Linked DNA regions of Homo sapiens: region 1 is linked to region 2. The links are contacts of gene promoters, found by promoter capture Hi-C in human tissues and cell types (Jung and others, 2019). All regions are on one chromosome and are shown on one strand. The core of a region is centred on a gene start or on the middle of the fragment in contact, and the rest is flanking DNA. Distances in the headings are between cores, read along the strand shown. Region 1 overlaps LINC00970 (long intergenic non-protein coding RNA 970). Region 2 holds the start of DPT (dermatopontin).

What was found. Contacts are between HindIII fragments. The study calls those that stand out against the background at their distance.
Region 1: a fragment that was not itself captured here is called in contact with the fragment with the promoter of DPT in region 2 in 2 of the 25 tissues and cell types used here (dorsolateral prefrontal cortex and hippocampus).

What each region holds. Positions count from the first base shown.
Region 1 is chr1:168,978,396-168,985,073 of GRCh38, forward strand. All of the region lies in intron 3 of LINC00970 (long intergenic non-protein coding RNA 970), which reads right to left. Among named protein-coding and RNA genes, the nearest start is that of LINC00970, 110 kb to the right of the region's middle. The HindIII fragment of the contact is 5,300 bases long and covers 1,159-6,458 here.
Region 2 is chr1:168,727,010-168,733,784 of GRCh38, forward strand. It overlaps DPT (dermatopontin), which reads right to left and starts at 2,197. Exons shown (of 4, transcript NM_001937.5): 1 at 1,861-2,197. The coding sequence starts at 2,165. The HindIII fragment of the contact is 7,078 bases long and covers 1-6,611 here.

The DNA of each region.
Region 1 (6,678 bases), core at 2,559-5,058, 250 kb after region 2:
CCTGTCCTTCCTACCAAAACAACACCCTTCTTTGTTTAAACCTCCGACTCTCAATTAACTTTTCTCATCAGCCCTACGTAGCCCCCACACCTGGGCTAATTAAGGGATTTCTCTGGGGACATGGACTCAGAATTCTGCTTGGTTTCCATATATAAAGGATAGCTCTCAGGAAGCCAGGTGGATAACTGGAGGAAGACACACAGAACCTCCAGTAAATATTCTGCTGTGATGGAATCCGGAGTTGCCTTGCAATTCCTTCAAACATCGTCATTGCTGAGAGCTGAGAGCTGAGAGCTGATGCGGCATAGGATTTTATCAAGTTGCTCCTTTGAAGACAGTGAGCCCCTGTTTTTCAACCTGCCTGTATGGTCAATAGGCTATACTGTTCCATCCATTTCCACAGGAAACCGGGTGATATGATTTGGCTCTGTGTCCCCACCCAAATCTCATCTTGAATTGTAATCCCTATAATCCTCATATGTTGAGGGTAGAACCCAATGGGAGGTTATTCGACCATGGGAGTGGTTTCCCCCATGCTGTTCTCATAATAGTGGGTTAGTTCTCACAAGATCTAATGGTTTTATAAGGGGCTCTTCCTGCTTCACTCCTCACTCTTCTCTCACCTGCCGTCTTGTGAAGAAGGTGCCTGCTTCCCCTTCCGTAAATTTCCTGAGGCCGCCTCAGCCATGTGGAACTGTGAGTCCATTAAACCTCTTTTCTTTACAAATTACCCAGTCTCAGGTAGTATCTTTACAGCTGTGTGAAAATGAATACACCAGGTGACTTGGCTTGGACCCATGGGGCATCATATCTGGGGAAGCAGATATCTGATGCACCTGGTCTGGATGGTCCCACACATTACAATAGCCAAGATATGAATGAGTAGACACCAAGTGGAATAAGCTCCTGAGTCTGAGCGGAGGCCCTAGGGCTCATCAGAAAATATGATCACAGGGTCATGGGGTGGCATCATGTCACTGACCAAATCTGTACCAGCATTTTGAAGCAACACAGGAAAGAGAAGCTTGAATCTTTCCAGCTTCTGTAGCTGTTGTCAAAGGGACTTGATGCAAAGCACAGGACAGCATTTTTACTATGTGCATTTCAGAAGATTTTCCAAATAACAGAACTGAAACTTCTCTGTCTCACGCTCAGGAGATTGGCCTGGCTTTTCCTTTTGGCTGAATTTCCACTGGCCTCTTTGATCTCCGGTTGTTCAATATGCCCTCGTGCTCTGCATTTCCAGGCTCACCATAGCTTTCTCTCATCTTTCTTCTTCCTGTCACAGCCAAGCTTTAGATTGTCTGGATTATAAATCCCAACTCATTAGATGGCCTATCAAAGATAGGAATTTGCCTTTCATTACAGTGTCCTGTATTATTTTTTATTGTTTACTCTGTAAAAATGTATATCCAGATATGTGAATGTTGTGGACATAGCTATTTGTCTAAGGTTTTGAATCAGGACCATGGAAGCAGAAGGATCCTCAGGATAGAGAGAGAACAGGAAACAAAGTTTGGAATAAAAAATTATGGATTTAAATCCCTGACCACTCCACAGTAGCCTTGAATAACTATGAAATTTCTCTTTGCTCATCTTTTTGACTATAAAATAGGAGTAATTAGACCGATTTATTGTGAAGACTCATTGGAAATCCATGTTCTTACAACAGCCTCCAAGCCTTCTGGCTCTCTCACCCCACCTCCTCTCTATCTTATCTTCTACCTCTCTCTCCTTGTGCTCCTCCTGCTCCAGTCACACTGTCCTGTTAGATATTCCTCAAATATACCCAGAACTGTCTCCCAAGGACATATGCACTCTCTCCCCTCTCCTTGGAAAGCTCTGTCCTCAGATAACCACATGGTTTTCTCTCCCATGTCCTTGGGTTAGCTGCTCAAGTCAGAGACCTACCCTCATCACCTATATTATTTAGAGCAATATCACACTGCCACTTCTACACCTCCCAACCCTGGTACTTCATAGCCCTCTTGAGTACTTTATGTTTGTCCACTGCTCTTATCACCACCTGACATATTACTTATTTATTTTGCATATTGCTCTCCATTAAGAGTTGAGTTTGACTGTTTGTTCACTGTTGTATCTGTTGCAATTCTATGAAGCATGTTTAAAACATTTTGGGTGCTCAAAAAATAAATCCAGAAAGAGTGACTGAGAGAACATATATAAAGTGCTAATGCCCATTACAGGAAGGGCATTTAAGAAACTGCTAATGACAATATATCTGAGGGGTAGTTGTCTGAAATAAACTCTTTTTTAGAGGATTTTCTTGGTGATTTAAAATTTAAACTTTATTTGATGACTTAAAATATATACTTCACTTTGAAGCTTTGAGAGGAAGAAATAATTTGCATCTAGGGGACTAGAATTAATTCTCCTTAGAAATAGCTAACTTCTGCTCTGGTGGGTGACTCAAGAATGGTTCTGTGATCCAAAATGCTGATTTCTCTCTGAAGAGGTGACAAAACAGGAAGTTAGAGAGGAGGGAGATATTTAGCTCCCTGAAGAAGTGGTGGCAATGGCATGGACTTTGGCATCAAGAGATCTGAATTCAGATCCTGATTCTACCACTTAATAGCTAAGGGACTTTGAATAAAATTTACCCTTGCTGAGTCCAGCAGTCTCTTCCTTTCAAATGATGGTAAGAAGAGCTATTGTCTCACAATGTTTCTGCTTCATATGCAGTGTCTCATGTATGAGAAATAAGGCCATGCATATAAAAATGTTTTACAAACTATTAATCACTATGCAAGGATTGGCTATTGTTATTGTTTACAGGGACTTGCAGGCTCTACAGGTTGTCTTGACCTCAAAAAAAATGCCACTTAGTCATTTGTACAAGATTTTGACTTCGAATTGTTAAGTTCTGTTTCGTGAATTTCTTCCCAGCCTGTGACTTTCTTTGCTTTGAGCTTTGATAGCTGTCTAGCACATTCACTTTTATGTTCCGATGATACTTTTCTTCAAGAAACTCGAGATGCTTTGTAGACGATTATCTCATTCATTCTTGCAATTTGAAAAGAAAGAATAAAATTATTTTGAGTCTAGCAAAATGGAGAAAAGCAGGATCACAAAACCCAAGCTGGCTGGGCACAGTGGTTCATGCCTGTAATCTCAGCACTTTGGCAAGCCAAAGCAGGAGAACTGCTTGTGCTCAAGAGTTCAAGACCAGCCTGGGCAACATAGTGAGACTCCACCTCTACAAAAAAATTTTAAGATAGCCAAGTATGGTGGCATGTGTCTATAGTCCTAGCTACTTGGGAGGCTGAAGCAGGAGGATCACTTGAACCTAGAAGCTCAAGATTACAGTGAGCTATGATCATGCCACTGACTCCAGCCTGGGTAACAGAGTAAGATCATCTCAAAGAAAAAAAAAAAGAATCACAGGCTAATTTCTCATCTATGCATTGACTCCCATTTCCATGGAAGGAGGGCTTTGCACCCTCTATCTGGCCTGTGCCCATCTCTACCAGGTATATCAGGGTTTTATCCAAGACATCAGGGAAGGAGAGAAGGGCTTTTACAGAATCTTGTGATAGAACAGGGAACTTTAAACCATAGTAGAGAGGAAATGTGGTGGTTCAACTCTTGTTGATTATGATTGTTAAACAAAAATTATAAAAAGCCACTGTTTTGGGCTAAGGTGATTTTTAAACAAAAATTATAGGAAGCCACTGTTGGCCGGGTGAGATGGCTCACACCTGTAATCCCAGCACTTTGGGAGGCCAAGGTGGGCGGATTATGAGGTCAGGAGATCGAGACTATTCTGGCCAACATGATGAAATCCCGTCTGTACCAAAAATACAAAAATTAGCTGGGTGTAGCGGCGCATGCCTGTAATCTCAGCTACTCGGGAGGCTGAGGCAGGAGAATTGCTTGAACCTGGGAGGTGGAGGTTGCAGTGAGCCGAGAGTGCGCCACTGTACTCCAGCCTGGCGACAGAGCTAGACTCCGTCTCCGTTTTGGGCTAAGCTTCTGTACTAGGCCCTAACAGACCATACTAAAAATCAAAATGGAGTCACCCATGCTAAAGTTCCATGTCACCAAACTGAAACTAAGTTGTTCTCTGAGCTTCTGAGAAATCAGGAGGGAAAGATAACAGCCCGTTTTCCAAACAGTCACAATAATGAATTACCTGTTTTAATCCTTTCAACAAAAAGTAACCAGCATAACCTGGCATTAACCAATCAGTTATCTTTCTATTGTTCTGTCTCCCTGTTCCTGCCTTACTAAGAAATGACCAATCTGCTTTTAAATCTTTGTTTCTGCTTTCTTCAACCCTTTCTGTCTATAAAACCAACCCCCTCTGTTCAACTCACTGGGACACTTACTCTATTTTATGGAATGAAGTGTTACCCAATTCAATTGAGATCTTGAAACAAAATTTGTTTGATTTCTCTTTTGATATGCCTTTTCAATGGGTACTAGGGGACAGGAAGGCACTATGGAAACATGAATGCTTTGCACTTTCTAAGTCGCTGTCTGAGACCCAGAAACAGATTGGTAGGGAAGTGGTTCAGCAAAAATTGGCCTAAGCGTGAGTTTCTCTAAAAATGGAACTTCAGGAAAGCCCAAAATTCAGAAAGGGCAGGACTCATGAGGAAGCCATTGCTTCCCGTAAATGCTGGATTGTGTTTTTCCATAAACATTTACTTGTGTTCTTTTCTGATTTTTTTTTTTTTTTTACCTTGGCTCTCATCCACCAAATGGATAGAAGTACAGGCTTCATCAAGGGCCCAGCGGCCAGAGGAACAATAGTGATTCTATCCGTGTCAATGTCCATGCCCTTGGATGTCACTTAATCTTTCTCTGGCTATTCTTCCCGGTTTTTGAAATGGACATGACATTGCTTGGCCTTCTGTAAATCATGGTATTAATATGAAAACAGAGCAAAATTGTATGTAATCCATATGTAAGCTGGATTCACACTATTCTTAAACTGTCAAATGAAATTGCCTCAAAATCCCTATTACATGTGTTGAGAAACTTGGTCTTCCTTGGGATTCTTATATTTCTTACAGAAATTTTTCCTAGTCAACCTGGCTCTGAATTTCTACCTCTGCCAAACTACTTCATTTTATAGATCACCTGGCCACCCATACATGTCACTTTTCTGTACTAGTTTATAACTTTGTGAGACAGCATCCCAATTACTTCCAGAAAACTGCCAATCCAAGTATATGCTTGTATAAGGCTTTCATTGAAGGTTTAAAAAATGGAAGGCTTTAATATGGCAGCTTTGCAGAAAATAAAAAAGAAGAAGTACACATGAGGGTACTTATGTCCTCAGGCTAATCCTCCTCCAGAAATTTCTTACTGGTCTCCACAGCCAGGTTTCTCAGCCTCTATCTTATCTTCTCCACAGATTCCTGTTAACTTCTTATGCATAGATGTTTAGCTATCAGTGTTGACCTCTGGACCTCATCTTCCTCCCCAATATGGTCTATAAGGTCATTTTGTAAGACAAAAGGCTATGCCCTCCAGAGAAAAGTTATACTGCTAAGGCAGGAGGCAAGGGCAGCTATCACCAGTTATCTTTTCTAATAACACTTTTTATATTCTTTGCACCATATTTGAAAACTCTGTATTTTTAGCAAGAAAGTGTTCTTCATTGAGTTCTTATTAGAGTGAAATCTGACATCCAACACATGCTTTTTTGAAAATGTTATCAGTTGCTATTCTACACATCTAAACTTCATTAATAACTGATTTTTGAAAGAATAATAGCAAAATATTATGAAATTCTGAAGCCCCTCATTTTGACAGGTTTATTGGAGCCCATCGTAGTACATGTCAATGGGAGCAAGGTGTGAAATGGACCTTCAAGGAGAGGTAAGGCAATAGTTTTCTAACATTCTTTTTTTTTTTCTTGCTATCTATTCTCCATAGGACAGATGAAGTAACCTTTGATAAATGCAAATCAGGCCATGCCATTCCTTTGCTTGAAACCCTTTGGTGGTTCCTCATGTATTTATGGGTCAGTCTTCATTCTTACTCCTCTCCAGGTAGGATGGATTCTCAGTTCCTCTGACACACCAAGATCTTTCCCACACCAGCACCTTTGCCACCACCCATCCCCGTCTCCATTGCCTGGAACAAAATTGCCCCTGCTCTGAACATAGCAGAATTTCCCTTGCTCTTGGCATATCTGGATCCTTCTCACCCTTTTGACCTCTGTGTAAGTATAAGCATCACTTCCAGCTGAAGACGTTCTCTTACAGACTCTATCCACACACATGCTGCTAGCATTCTTCATCTTCTCCTCCTTTTCCCCCTTTGTATCACTTACCACAATCTGTGATTATTTTATTATTTGCTTGCTTGCCTCTTTTCTGTCTACTCCACTAGATCATGAGTCTGCAAACTTTTTCTGTAAAGAGCCAGATAGTAAATATTTTAGATTTATGCCATACGGTTTCTGTTGCAACTACTTGACTCTGCCACTGCAGCATAAAATCAGCTGTAGACAATACATAAACAAATTAGTGTGGCTGTGTTCCAATAAAACTTTATTAATGGACACTAAAATTTGAGTTTCATACACTTTGCGTGTGTCATAAAATATTATTATTCTTTCCATTTTTTATTATGTTTTAAAATTTAAAAACCATTCTTATCTTGCAGGTCGTGCAAAAACAGATGGCAGACTAAATTTGGCCC
Region 2 (6,775 bases), core at 947-3,446:
CAGTCCTGGTAACCAAGTAGGGATCATCCCTCTGGGGCTGGGCTTCTGCTGTGGTCTTGCAGGTCCCCACCCTCTCCAGGAGGAAGAACTGCCCTGAATCTGGTCCTGTGGCACTGGCTCTGCTGACAGAGTCAGCTGTCGGGTGGGAGCCCACTCTGGGTGGAGGCAGCAGCCTCTCAGGAGCCCGTCACTGTGGCAAAGTACAAACTCTTTGAAGCAAAGACTCTGTGGATCCAAACCCCAGCTTTCTAGCCGAGGAAATACTGGATCTCTAGACTGCAGTTTGTCTACCTATAAATGGGATATACCCTTGTTTTGAGCATTACACGAGATGATCCACATAAAGCACTTAGCATGGAGCCTGCTCAGGGTAAGCACTCAATAAATGGTAGCTGTTGTCATTACTTAAAGGCCCGCTCTCTTTCCTGGCTCCCCCACCCATCGGTGTTTCTTCCTCTTGGATTTCCCATCATCACCTCTCTACTGGTTGTGTCCCCCAGGGTTCTATGCTTTTTCTTTTTTCTATTTTCTTTTTTTTTTTTTTTTGAGGCAGAGTCTTGCTCTGCCACCCAGGAGGGAATACAGTGGTGCGAGCATGGCTCACTGCAGCCTCGACTCCCTGGGCTCAAGTGATCCTCCTACCTTAGCCTCCTGAGTAGCTGGGACCACAGGCTGCATGCAACTACACCGGGCTAATTTTTTTTTTTCTGTAGAGATAGGGTCTGGCTGTGTTCCCTAGGCTGGTCTCGAACTCTTGATCTCAAGTGATCCTCCCTCCCCAGCCTCCCAAAGTGTTTGGGATTACAGGCGTGAGCCACCACACCTGGCCAGATTTTGTGCTTGACCCCTCCAATCCCCACTACACTAAGTACTTGTTGCCACACATCTGGGTTGCTCTACAGATAGCACATGCAGCAGCCCTCCAGGTGGGCTTCCTCCTCCCTGGACTGCCTCCTCCGTTCTCTCCTCCAAGCCTCCTAGAGTGCTGGCTCCATCTAGGCTGTTGTAAATAATCAGCCTAGCAGTCAGTGCCTACTAGGATGAGCTCCTGACCAAGCACCTGGGCTGAGACCCAGCTGAGACAATCACACCCCACAAAAAAGTACAAGCTCGAAAAAATTCCATGCCACTGCTTAAGGCAGAATGCAGTCAGGGGAAGACAGCACCTCTCTCCAAAACCCTTTAGTAAACTATTTTCCAGCAATAAAACCCACTTTAAATTCAGGCAGAGAGAAGGACCTCAGTACTCATAATTGAGAGAGCACATTTAATCAAGGCAGTAGACAGCTATTTAATTCCACTTTCTTTTGCCTAAATGTCCTTGTCCCCTCTTTTCCATTCACTTGCTCTAAATCAATAGTTCTCAAACCCTCCGTGCTGAGAGATCAATTGTTTATTTTTCTTGTTCCCAAACTACTGTGGGCCAGTACTTTTGTAAAATGGTAAAAATAAATTTCTAAAAAAGAAAAATGCCATTCCGATGGCACAGAAAGTTTTAATTTCTATAAAGTTTATTACTTTCAGTTTCTGTACATATCTTTTGGTAGTCTGGTAAGCAAGCTTCTCGCCGACCTACACCAGCCCCTGGCCCAAACTGAGAGTAGGTAGAACAGCTTCTGGAAGGAACAGAGCCACAGAGGAGTCTGTCTCCCACAGACACTCCCCATCCCAGGTTTTTGTCCTGTCATGTAGTCCGCTCAGCAGCAGCCCTGCTCCACCCAGAGCATGCAGTGGTGAGGTTTGGGGTGGGATTTGCCCAGGCTTTGGTTACTGATATTCCTTGAGAGTCTAGCAGCCCCCAGGAGGAGGGATATGCAGAGATGTTCCCAGCCCCAGTGCAGTGCAGGGACTGGCCCTTACCATTCCATGCCAGCCCTGTTGATCTCCTCCCACCAGCACTCCGTGGGTTCCCCGAGGCTCTGTGGCGTGGGCATGCAGGCGTAGTTCCATTGTCTGTCAGAACCTTCCTTCTTGCTGAAGATGCTCCTCACGGCCACTATCACCTGCCCCTGGGGACACTGGTAGCTGAAGCCTTGCCGGTTCAAATTCACCCACCCATCATCGCTGTAGTCATGATACTGCTGGTATGGGTATCCATAATCGCCATACTGGCCCCAGGCCATGGTGACTAGGGGCAGAAGTACCCAGAGAAGACTGAGGTCCATGCTGCCTGGGATTTTGGCAAACAATGTCACTCTAAGATTGCTGGTCTGACCGTTTTATATAGCTGCCGCTGACATGTGGCTTCCAGATGTGGGTGAGAAGGATCCAACTGCAGTGTGTCATTGCTTAAGCAAAACTTTTCCATGCTGAGATGTCAGCCATAAGGACATTCAGCTTGTTTTAAGGTGGAATTCTAGGAATATACCAGCAGCATGTAAGTCTAAGAAGCTCCCTGGAGAAAGAACAACTTTGTATCTAGATTATAAAAGCCAACTGCTGCTCTACCCTGTAGAAATATTCACTTGAAAAACACTGATTAGTAGCATATTTGTCCCTCACCTTTCAGCACCTCACCCCTTTCTGTCCTACCCTACCCGCTACTAGCAAACCCCTGTATTTGTTCTCCAAACTAGCCTTCCGGGCCACACAAATACCCAGACAGTGATTTCAAAATACCGAAATCATAGACTGAAGTAACAGAGCCATCTAGGATTTCTGTAAGGCTGAATGCCTGTTTTTTTTTTTAAGTTGTCAATCCAACACTTTTTAACCCTTGAGTATAAGCGCGGGTATACCAGTTTGCAGGGCTACTCTGAGAACTCATAAGTTGCATAAGGAAGTACTATGGGCCCATGGGGAGATAAGTTGGATATGATTTCTACACTTAAGCATTCTACCATGCTGCTGAAATTGGACCCAGTCAAGTCTAGAAAGTGTGCTCTGCTCTCAAAATGTAATGGGTTTAATCTAAATAAACCCCCTATTTATCCTTCAGTATTTTTGCCCTCACATTGAATTTTCTTTTCATTGAGTTATAATTTACATATAATTAATTCACCTTTTAAAATACATAATGTACAGTAACATAGCCAGCACCCTAATCAAGACTTAGAACAGTTCCATCAATCCAAAACATCCCCTTATATCCCTTTGCAGTCAAATCTTCCCAAACACCCAGCCATTGGTAACCACTGATTTACTTTCTGTCTCTATGGTTTTGCCTTTTCCAGAATGTCAAGTAAATGGAATCATACCACACGTAGCCTTTCATGTCCATCTTTCACTTAGCATAATGCTTTTAAGGTTCATCCATTTTAAAATTCAACATCTCATTGTATGTGTTAGTATTTTGTTTCTTGTTATTGTTGAGTAATATTCCATAGCATGGATGTACCACAGATTGTTTATACATTTACTAGTTGAAAGACATTTGGGTTGTTTCCAGTTTTTGAAAATTCATTACTTTTTATGTAATGAATTTTATATTCATTATATTTTATATAATGAATTACATAAATGTAATTATAAAGTTGATATAAACATCTATGTATAGGTTTTTGTGTGAACAAATTTTTATTTCATTTGGGTCAATACCTAGGAGTGAGATTGCTGGTTCACAAGGTAATGTATGTTTAACTTTAAAAGAAACTACTGAGGCCGGGTGTGGTGGCTCATGCTTGTAATCCCAGCACTTTAGGAGGCCGAGGCGGGCGGATCACGAGGTCAGGAGATCGAGACCATCCTGGCTAACATGGTGAAACCCCGCCTCTACTAAAAATACAAAAAATTAGCCAGGCTTAGTGGCGGGCGCCTGTAGTCCCAGCTACTCGGGAGGCTGAGACAGGAGAATGGCGTGAACCCGAGAAGCGGAGCTTGCAGTGAGCCGAGATTGTGCCACTGCACTCCAGCCTGGGCTACAGAGCGAGACTCCGTCTCAAAAAAACAAAAAAAAGAAAGCAAGAAACTACCTAGCTGATTTCCAAAGTGGTGATACCATTGCCCACCACTACCAGAAAATTGCCATTAAAAAATTTTAGCTATTCAAATAGGTTTGTAGTGATATTTCAGTGTGGTTGTGATTTTCATTTCTCTAATGATCCATGATTTTGAGCATCTTTTCATGTGCTCATTACCCATTCCATGCATCCGTTGATGATTTGGCTTTTCAAATTTTTTGAAACCTTTGGGCATCTCTTAAGCACATAGTATTTCCCATTTCTCATCAGTATTGTTCTTAAAGTTTCTTAGAATTGTGATCATAGACCAATTCTATCTACAGCCTCTGTGAAGTTTGTTAAAATGTAGACAGTGGCTCTTCTCCAGGCCTGCTAAATCATAACCTCACAAGGGGTGCTCAGGTATTTATATTTTAAAAAATTTTCCAGGTGATTCTTATTCACATCAATTGCTAAGAGTCACCTTCCTAAAGGAATGTGGAGCCAGAGAAAAATCACACTATTAATCCCACCATCTGCCTAGCCTGTGGCACATTTACCAGACGGTATTCAGTCTAGATCAAACACCAAGATAGTCTTGAAAGGGAAAGACAGTCATACATGAGAATAAAGCAACAAGTAACTCGTGTGTGTGTGTGTGTGTGTGTGTGTTTGTGTGTGTGTTGGGCATGCAGTTTTCTTTGATGATCATGGTTACTGAAGCGAGGGGGAGAGGATCTGGGCTGAACAGCTATGTGAGGCTTAGTTTTGTTTTTAGCACCATCTTCTCCCACCACTTCCATCCGTAAGTAACTGCCCAGTGCTGGCATCGGAATTCTTCCTAGCTTAGAAGGATCTCTCTGATTCATGATATGCTGAAGCAATCATTCTCCACCTTATCAGCATTTAAGGATTACCTGGAAAGCTTTTGGAAACCTCCAGAGTCTAAGCAATTTCTGGACCAATCAGATCAGAAGCTTCTGAGCAGGGTCCTGACAATGACGTCCTTTGAAACCTTCCCTATAGGCTTCTCACCGGAAGCCAGGGTTGAGAACCTCTATGCTAGAGGGTTTTTTTTTTTTTTTAATTTTTTCAGTTTATCATCCTGATGCTCATGAGTTGTATCTTGCATTCTGGACATGATATGAGCTATTTTAAACCTTAAAGAGCTCTAAGAGACAAAGCAGATTATCATAAACACTCATCTTTATTATACATTTGTTTTCCAACAATTTCCAGGGCCTCTGCCTGATCTCCACTCTCCGCAGATTTCTTTCAACTACAGCTAGAACTACCTCAGCTGGATTCCCTTTAATGTGCAAAAATAAATATCTTCATGCTATGGTCCAGTTTTAATATAGATTTCTGTTACTTAAAGCTGAAAGCAACCTAACTCATCCAGTGTCTCAGGAGATTCCAGAAACTGCTGATGCCTTTGAGAGAGATTCTGGTGGCCGCATAGAGAATGATTTCCATACGCAGACATTGAGAACATAAGATTAATGCATTTACAGTTGACCATGTGTTTTCAACTAGGTTACTATGTTATCTTCCTCATAACTTTATATGTTAGTGAGGCATTATTGGAATTAGTTTCTCACAGATGGGGAAACTGTGGTGAGAGAACATTTTGGGCCAAATTTCTAGAACTGGAAGGATATGACCCCATGTCTTCTGATTCCCATTCTGCAATGCCTTCCATCATTTCATCAAAGTTACAGTTACTAATTATAACATTTATGAATAATTGTCAAATAATGCACTTATAAAGTATGTATATTAACATACACATATAACTAATTTGCGCTACGCATTTCTGCTGTTATTTGAAAAGTCTACTCAATAGACCCTGGGGACTTTAAAGAACTAAATGTTCAATAAGTAGTTTTTGGGGTGTTGCTCTAAAACCAACAGCATCAGCGTCACCTGGGAACTTGTTAGAAATGCAAATCCTCCGGCCCCTCTCAGACCTACTGAATCAGACACTGTAGGAGTAGAGCCCGGCAATGTGTGTTTGAACAAGCCCTTTAGGTAACTTGATACTCACTAAAGTGAGAATTACCGTATAGCAGATAATGCAGAACACTCTACCCAAATTCCAGGTGTCACTTCTCGAGAAGTTATGTAGTGATACTGAAGCCTAGATAACTCAGTTCACTAATTTTGATTCTGGCGCCCACACAATTCACCACTGGGCTATCTTACCTCCTAGTAGATAATGGACTTGAGATATTTTGGAGATTCTGACAAAGAGCATTCAAAAGTCTCCATGATTCTTCTTTTTCTTCTACCTCTTATTCTTCTTTTCTCTCTCCTTATCCTCCTCCTTCTTCGGCTGTATTGAGATATAATTAACATACCATACAATTCACCACTTAAGGTATATAATTCAATATATCCCTTAAATTAGTATGTTCACAGAGTTTATGCAACCACCACCGCAAGCAATTTTAGAATATTTTAACCACCCAAGAAACCCTGAACACATCAGTAGTCGCTCTCCATTTCCCTTCATCCTTTAGCCCTAGGCAACAATCAATCTACTTTGTGTCTCTATGGATTTGTCTGTTCTGGATATTTCGTATGAATAGAATCATTCAATATGTGGTCTTTCATGAATAGGTTCTTTCATTTAGCATAGGTTTTATGTTAGCGGTTCATAAGGTTCATCCATTTTGCAGCATGTATCACTAGTTCATTTCTTTATAATGCCAGATAATACTCTACAGTATACATCTACCATATATTATTTATCCATTTACAAGTTGATGGACATTTGAGTTGTTTCCACTTTTTGGCTATTATGAACAGTGTTGCTACAAACATGTATGTAGAAGTATATGTGTGGACATATGTTTTCATTTCTCTCAGGTATATACTCAGGAGTGGAATTGCTG